2 separate regions of the Homo sapiens genome follow, and region 1 is linked to region 2. The links are contacts of gene promoters, found by promoter capture Hi-C in blood cells and fetal thymus (Javierre and others, 2016). All regions are on one chromosome and are shown on one strand. The core of a region is centred on a gene start or on the middle of the fragment in contact, and the rest is flanking DNA. Distances in the headings are between cores, read along the strand shown.

Region 1 (4,057 bases), core at 1,558-4,057, 120 kb before region 2:
CAGTTGCTGACCCAGCCTGTAGTAGCCCCTAGGCACAGCGATACTGTCTTAGGGCTGAAAGTTAGGATCTTCCAGATTACTCAGATTCCCTTTGCCCGATGGCTCTGAGTGGCAGTTTTCTAAATGTCCACTGGGTGGCGCTGGCTCCCCAGGAGGCGGCAAAATGAGGCGCCCCTTCCCTTTCCAGCAGGAATTGGCCTTTTTCTTTACTTGAAAATTACAGAATTCCATGCAGATTTTACAGCCTCTGTAGGTAAGCTTTCACAAGGTGTTTTTCTGCACTTGTCCCCCCTCCTTGCCCCGATCGCTCTGCCCCTCTCTTGGGGGGGTTTCTGCTTCTGTTTATGCCCTGGTGGGCCACACCACACTCCCACAAGATGAACATTATACAAAAGAAAACTCAGTGGAAGGTTCCTTCTTTAAACAGAAAGCACTCTCTTCATCTGCCAAATGAAGTGAGAAGGGTAGGAAAATTAGATTTTATTGAAAAAATATATTTAAAACTGATGTTTTTTCAGTTCTGTCTTAGGGCTAGTTAGCAGTGTTATGAGACACAAACAGGAAGGAGTGAGGTGGAAAGGTATGGAAGGTACTGGGCATGGCAGCTGAAGCTTGCAACCCCAGCACTGTGGGAGGCCAGGGTGGGACAACTGCTTGAGGTCAGGAGTTTGAGAACAGCCCGGGCAACATAGCAAGACCCCATCTCCACAGCAAATTAAAAAAAAAAAAAAATTAGCCACATGTGGTGGCACGTGCTTGTGGTCCCAGCTACTTGGGAGACTGAGGCAGGAGGATTGCTTGACCCCAGGAGTTTGAGACCAGTCTGGGCAACATAGCAAGACCCCGTCTCTACCACAAAAGAAAAGAAAAAGATGGAAGGGGAAAAGAGAAGAGTTAAAAATAAAGCAGAGGAAGAGCAGTGAGAAAGGTGAAGGAAGGGAGGAAAGGAAGGAAACGGTGGGAGGGAGGGAGGAAGGAAAGGGAGAGAGGGAGGGAAGGAAAGGGAGGAAGGAAAGGGAGGAAAGGGAGGGAGGGAGGAAGGAAGGGAGGGAGGGAAGGAGACAGGAAGGGAGGTAGGTTGGTTGGTCCGTCGGTCCGTCGGTCCTAGACCAATCAGAGTTTGCATTTCATTTCAGCAACTTCCCTGGGAGAGGGAAAGATTTGTGCCCATGTGATCAAGTGTGAGCAACTCACTAAGCCCTAACTTATTTCTGAGTCACCATTCAGAGACATTGATTTTTTCGACTTTTGATTTCCAACTTCAAAACAAAACAAAGGGACTCAAGAAAACTTTTGAAGGTGATGTGTATGTTTATTACTCTTGTGCTGATGGTAGCAGTAGTGTATACTTAAGTCCCAACTCACCAAATTACATTATGTGCAGTTTTTAGTATATCAATTACACCTTACTGAAGCTGGAAAGAAATGATAATAAAAAGTTTTTGAGTTCTTATAATTTGACAGCAAACTGAGATTTTACTCTTATAACTTGTGATCCACTGATTCCTTCAGCAAGCATTTGCTGACATTTACCAATTTCCTGAGTCTTGTTGATGAATACTAGAGAAGGATGTTGAAGAGCACTAAATAGGTAACCTCAAGCAGTGACGTTATATCTGAAAAAAGTGACTGAGGTTCACTTTTAAGTAGGCAGCGTGCTTTGAGGCCTGAAAGGGCTCGGGTTGAATGGGCCCTGCCAGCCATGGATCCTTATGTAGAGGCTGGGCAAAAAAATGCTCCATTTTCCCCCTTTCGCCAAGAATTGAAATAGCCCCTTTTCCTGCTCGTTTGGCCGAGTAGAAGGGAAAGCCTTTGAGGCTATTCATGTTTTCACTGCCTGGTTTTCTGGGTCAGGATTAGGTCATGACCGTTTCATGTTTGTTCATTTGGCCTTGGGCCCCTGGGGCAGGTAGGGTCTGGCCAGGGGAAAGGTTCTTTTCCAGATTCTTTTTTTTTTTTGAGATGGAGTCTCGCTCTGTGGCCCAGGCTGGAGTGCAGTGGCATGATCTCAGCTCACTGCAACCTCCGCCTCCCAGGTTCAAGTGATTCTCCTGCCTCAGCCTTCTGAGTAGCTGGGATCACAGGTGCCCGCCACCACACCCGGCTAATTTTTATATTTTTAGTAGAGACGGGGTTTCACCATGTTGGTCAGGCTAGTCTCAAACTCCTGACCTCAGGTGATCTGCCCGCCTCGGCCTCCCAAAGTGCAGGCATGAGCCACCACGCCCAGCCCTTTTCCAGATTCCTGTAGCCAGCAAAGACCAGCACCAAACGTTTGTTGGGCTAATGGATGGGTGGATGCAAATGAATGTTTGCATTTGAATGAAATGACTGAGAACAAATCTTTGCCTGCTTTCAAGTTGCTGAGCGTCCCTCTACTGCCTAAGATGAGGGGTTTTTCTACTTGTATGTTATTCCTTGCCTGTCATAACAACAGTGTTTTTGGACAATGGTGAAAAGGAGCTCCCTCTTTGATTTTTGTAGATGGCAGTTGAATTCCTGCATGAACTGAATGTTCCATTTTTCAAAGTTGGATCTGGAGACACTAATAATTTTCCTTATCTGGAAAAGACAGCCAAAAAAGGTAAGTGTCTAATTTTTGACTTAAAATCGAAGGGAGTCCAAACCTTCATATTTTTACTCCCCTCATGGTGGCCCACTTTCAGCAGATTTCATGAAGACAAATTTTAGCCTCTTTTCATTTTTTTAAATAGAGATAGGGTCTCGCTGTGTTGGCCAGGTTGGTCTTGAACTCCTGGCCTAAAGCAATCCTCCCATCTCGACCTCCCAAAGTGCTAGGATTACAGGCATGAGCCACTGTGCCCTGCCAGAAACCTCTTTTCAATCAGCCTGTACTTCCATTTTTTGTAAGCTAATTTGAAAGAAAATGAATTAAGAATATGACAGTTTTTATAAGACATTTAGAAATTCTTTTTAAGAATTTTTTTTTTTTTTTAATAGAGACAAGGTCTGTCTATGTTGCCCAGGTTGGTCTTGAACTCCTGGATTCAAGTGATCCTCCTACTTCAGCCTCCCAAAGTGTTGGGATTACAGGTGTGAGCCACTGCACCTGTCCTAGAAAATTTTTTAACTAAAATTTATAAGAAATTAAGGATATGACAGTATATATAAAACCTAGCTGGGTATGGTGGTGCATTACTGTGGCCCCAGCTACTCGGGAGGCTGAGGTAGGAGGATTGCTTGAGTTTGAGACCGCAGTGGGACATGATCGTGTAAAGTGGTTTTACAACATGAACAATTTCATTTGATCCTCATAACACTCCTAGGACTGAAACAGGTCATGATTATGATGCTTGATACTTATTTCACAGGGGAGGCCTCTGAGACTCAGAGACGGACAGTACTCTGCCCAGGCACAGCTAGAAGTGGCAGCTCCACACCTCACATTCATTCACACTCTTGAATCAGCACTCATTCTACTGTACTGCCATGGTATACAACCTATTAATCAGATAAGATACTCATTTTCCTCTTGGCAGTGTGAAATTCCTCTGCCTCTTTAATTCAGTTCCTTTTGCTCAAGAACACTGTCGGGGGGCAGAGGGGAGCCCACCTTTCCTGTGGCCGAGGGCAGGAACCCAACAAGCTCCTCTCTGTTCCCCCACAGGGGCTGGCACAGTGTTTTAAGAGATGTCTGTGGAGTTCAGTTGAATGATGAGACCAGCAGTTGGGATGTGTTGGGGAGAGTCAGAACCTCTAAAGAGAAAGTGCTGATGGTGTTGGTGCTGGATTACTCAGGTCGCCCAATGGTGATCTCCAGTGGGATGCAGTCAATGGACACCATGAAGCAAGTTTATCAGATCGTGAAGCCCCTCAACCCCAACTTCTGCTTCTTGCAGTGTACCAGCGCATACCCGCTCCAGCCTGAGGACGTCAACCTGCGGGTCATCTCGGTGAGCAGGAGGGAGGGGGTTCCCTTCTTGGGCCATTTACTATGGGGAAGGCGTAGTCTTTTTTATAACCAAAATTCTAACAAACATGGCATACTTTATAATTTGAACATCCTTTGACAGTCTTGCTGTTACCAAATCAAATT
Region 2 (4,317 bases), core at 481-2,980:
GCAGCTCCACCATGGCCGCAGGGCAAGGTCATAGGCACTACTTCAGCCCTAGAATTCCATAGACTTTCAGTCCAAGGTAGCTCACCCCCAGGTTCTGCTTGAATACCTGTGATGACAAAGAGCTCACTACCTGTCCAGGGGCCTCCTGCCCTCTTTTGGCTGTTAAGAAAATCCCTGGGTGCAGGGCAGGTCATGAAGGGGACAAGAAAGACCAGGAGGCTGAGAAGTGATTCCTAGAAACTGCTCCCTCAAACAGGGCAGGCATCAGGGAGGTGGAGAAGAGGCCCCATGGGGCAGGAAAGGCCTGCAGAGGGGCTCCGGCTCTCCTCACTCCGGACCTCTCAGACGGTCCCCAGGAGGGGCAGGAAGCTGGGGAGACACATTCCAGTCCTGATGCACAGGTGGGTTCTGAACAAGCCCCAGGAAAGCGGAGGCCCCACAGCCTGCTCCAGGGCAGACACCTCGGCTCCCTCTTCTTGCCTTGGCTCCCTGGGATCTGATGGGAGAAACTGCTGGGCCTGGGGCTGCTGGGTCTGGAGATGAGCATATTTAAGGGACCTGACCACTGCCCCAGGGTGAGGGAGGAAGGGTCAGAGGTTGTTTGTGTGTCCAGAGCAGGACCAGCAGGAGAGGCAGTGACTGGGTAGCAGATTCCAGCTTGGTTTACAACTAGTGAGATTCCTATCACAAGGAGTGTGCAAGGGGGCAGCAAGACCTTCCAGAGGGGATCTTACAGAGGGGCTGGGCCAGATGCCATAGGTCTTCTTTACCTAGGGAGCCTGGGACCACAGTCCCTCAGACCTGTGCTCTGCCCCATCCCTTAATGCCACGCGGACACAGCACCTTGGCACTGTCACCCCTCTGAGGTCCAGGCGTGGCCGCCAGTCACCCCTTGTCACACCAGCTAGTGTGTGTCACACCTTATCACACACTAGCTCTGGGACACAGAGCTAGGCACCAGCACCTGGCCCGGGTGGGGAAGGGGAAGGAGCTATCCTATACCACTCTCTAAATCGAGGTGCCTACGTGGGGCTGGTCCAGGCAGTCGTGCCGCCAGGAGTCCAGCCACCTCCAACCTAGGGCTCCTCCAGCCCCAGACGAGTAAACCCTCTTGGCGGGCCGGCTGATGCCCCACATGCACGCCCAGGCCGGCTTGGCGGGGACCCGGGGATGCCCCCCACCCCACCGTTTCCTGTACCAGGAAGCTGAGGCCCAGCAGGTAACGCAGCCAAGAGGGGGAGGGTCCCGACAAGAGTCCCATGGAGCACCCGGGCCACAGCAGGGGCCTGTCGGGACCGGCTGGCCGCGCCCAGAGTGAGCTTCCCTCACCGCGGGCAGGAGGGGTGGGCGGTGCAGACAGTGCTCATGAGGGCAGCGAGCCGTCGGGAGCCCGGACCTCGAGGCGGCCCCTCCCAACAACCCCGCGAGAAGGGGGCCACCAATGAGCAAGCTATCCTGACGGGGAAACTGAGGCCTGGAGAGGAGCAGTGCTTTGTGCAAGGTCACGCAAAGGGGCTGAAAGCCAGGTCCCCCGCGCTCCGAGCCCCGCATCCCTCCCTCTCCGGGAGCTGCAGCCGCAGCGCGCACGTCCCGCCCGACGCCCCCATCGCGCAGACCGGGAAGGCACGGCCGGCGGCGCAGGGCCGCCCTACCTTGATGACTGCCGCGCAGGTGGCGGTGGCGGCGGCGGCGTCCAGCTCCGGCTCCGCGCTCCTCGCCGCCCGCCGACTCCCGGCGCCCAGAGCCGCCGCCGCCTCCCCCTGCAGCCCGGCGGGCGGGGCCGGAGGGCGGGGCGGGGGCCTGGCCCAAGGTCCGCCCTTTTGCCCGCCCCGCGGGTCCGCCCTGGCCACCCTTTTCCGCCCCCACGACCCCGACCGCGCTCCTGGCTCCCCGGGGCGGGTCTCGGGGCGCGCACACGTGCTGGGAACAGGCGCGCACACGCCGCAGTGATTGGGGCGGGCTGCCGGCCACCAGGCGGAGGCTGGGGACAGGCAGAGCCGCGGGCCCCACGTCGCGCCGTGCCCTCGCTGCGTGGTGTGGGATGAGGAACCTGACCTCCCGGAGCCTCAGTTTCCCCCGTTGTGAAATGGAGACAGTAACCGCGTCGGCCTCTTAAGGCTGTTTGAGCCCTGGATGTGACGATCCCGGCCGGGTACAGTGCGCGCGCCGAGCCCGGCCAGGGAAGCGCTCCTTTCCCCGAGCAGTTACAGCGGTTACCGAGGCTTCCCCGTCCGCAGGGAGGAGAGGAGCCGGGAGCGCCGCTGGGAACCGAGGAGGACGCCCTTCCTTCTCTCGGGACCAGCCGGGGGCGCTGCTGCCAGCCTCGCTGGCTGGAGAGCCCTGAGGACACTAGACAATGGGGAGGCCCTACCTTTGGGTACCACCCCCACCTAACACTACTGAGCCACGCACTCCTCTAAGCGCCTTCTGTGCATTACCTCGCTTCACTGTCACACAGGCCTATGAGGTTGATACCATTACTCACCTATTTAACACAAAAGAGCTGAGGCACAGAGATATTAAGTACCTAGGTTAAGATCACCCGGCTAGTCATGCAACCCCAGGCAGTATGGCTCCCACGGCTACTAAGCTAACAGCCACTCCACTCCACACCACGTCTGTGAAGAGCTCTTGGTTTTGTTCAGTAGAGACGGGTTATCTTGAGGGCCTTGAACTGCTCCGTGGCACATAGTAACCACTCAATATATAGTTGTGGAGTGGATAACAGAGTACACTGTTACTACTTTACATATCTGTATCGTTTCTTCTAAGCTTCTAATAATAGTGGCTTTATTTAGCCACTATTATTACCTCCATTTTACAGATAAGAAAACTGAGGCTTGGAGTGGCAAGGTACTTAGGGAGCTCTTGATTCTCTCCTTAGAATGTGACTCAGCTTCCATAGTCCACTGTACCACCCCCCTGCCCAGAGCTGGACGGGCTCCCTGCCTACCACCCAAAGCCCAGTGTGCACTATGGTCCTGAAAACCCCATCCTACAGCTCTGATTCAGACCTTCTGGAGCTGGATTGCCCAGCAGGTAGACTGAACGCATGCTTCTGGTGTTAGCGTGCAAGAGTTGGGTATCAAGCATATGGATGGCTGGGCGCAGTGGCTCATGCTTGTAATCCCAGCACTTTGGGAGGCCAAGGCAGGTGGATTGCTTGAGCTCAAGAGTTCAAGACCAGCCTGGCCAACATGGTGAAAACCTGTCTCTACTAAAAATACAAAAATTAGCCGGGCGTGGTGGCATGTGCCTATAGTTCCAGCTACTTGGGAAGCTGAGGCAGGATAATCACTTGAACCTAGGAGGTGGAGGTGGCAGTGAGCCGAGATCACATCACTGCACTCCAGCCTGGGCTACAGAGTGGGACTCTGTCTCAAACAAACAAACAAACAAACAAACATATGGATGAAATCAGAACATTGTGGGAATTCTTTATAATCATGGTTTGGTTTTTACTTGAATTACAGCTGGACGGTGGGCACCATGATCTTTCCCAGGCTAAGGCATCTGAATAACTTTGTTGTTGTTGTTTTTGCATGGTTTTGTTCTGTCGCCCAGGCTGGAGTGCAGTGGCACAATCCTAGCTTGCTGCAGCCTCCACCACACAAGCTCAAGCAATCCTCCCACCTCAGCCTCCCGAATGGCTAGAACTACAGGTGCGTGCCACCATGCCCAGCCAATTTTTATATTTTTTGTAGAGATAGGGTTTCGCCACGTTGCTCAGGCTGGTCTCCAACTCCTGGGCTCAAGCAATCTGCCTGCCTTGGCCTCCCAAAGTGCTGGGATTACAGGTGCGTGCCACCACGCCTGGCCTTGAATGTCTTAATTCACTTAGGGCTTGGGCCAGCATCTCTGGTGTGGCTTTCTACCTCTGCCAATGCCACTCGCCTTGCACTCTGACATCTCTGAGCCTTTGCTCTGTCTGCAGTTCTCTTCCCAAATCATCATCTCCCTTGTCTAAACCCACTCATCCTTCCAGGCCTAGCCTTCCTAGATGTCCTATGGATGTGCCCTCCAAGGCTTGCACCTGCATCTTCCTACCCTGTGCCATGGTGGTTGGTGGCTGGGACTGTTTGGGGAACAGCTGGTTTGACAGAGACATCTCTGGGGGCTGTGGGCATATGGACCCATAAGCCAGAGGGAGACCTCTGCAATGAACCTGGGACCCTTCCTGGGGTTGCTGTGGCTGGGGAGTGTCCTCCTCTCTTGCCCCTTCCCTCCCTCTAATCCTGGTCCAGATGCAGGATTGCACACATGGGGAAACTGAGGCCACAGTGGGCATGACCTACGCAGGATCCCCTAGCTAGAAAA

What was found. Contacts are between HindIII fragments. The CHiCAGO score rates a contact against its expected background, and 5 or more counts as called.
Region 1: a contact is called between a fragment that was not itself captured here and the fragment with the promoter of CORO2A in region 2, in 15 of 17 cell types (total CD8 T cells, non-activated CD4 T cells, naive CD4 T cells and 12 more). The highest score is 15.1, in total CD8 T cells.

What each region holds. Positions count from the first base shown.
Region 1 is chr9:98,074,434-98,078,490 of GRCh38, forward strand. NANS (N-acetylneuraminate synthase) reads left to right here. Exons shown (of 6, transcript NM_018946.4): 3 at 2,485-2,584; 4 at 3,760-3,914. It also overlaps a transcript of TRIM14 not described here. Among named protein-coding and RNA genes, the nearest start is that of NANS, 20 kb to the left of the region's middle. RefSeq lists an enhancer at 200-1,006. The HindIII fragment of the contact is 4,397 bases long and covers 610-4,057 here.
Region 2 is chr9:98,190,907-98,195,223 of GRCh38, forward strand. CORO2A (coronin 2A) reads right to left here and starts at 1,731. Exons shown (of 12, transcript NM_052820.4): 1 at 1,653-1,731. RefSeq lists an enhancer at 584-1,238 and silencers at 1,391-1,440, 1,511-2,060. The HindIII fragment of the contact is 3,890 bases long and covers 1-2,770 here.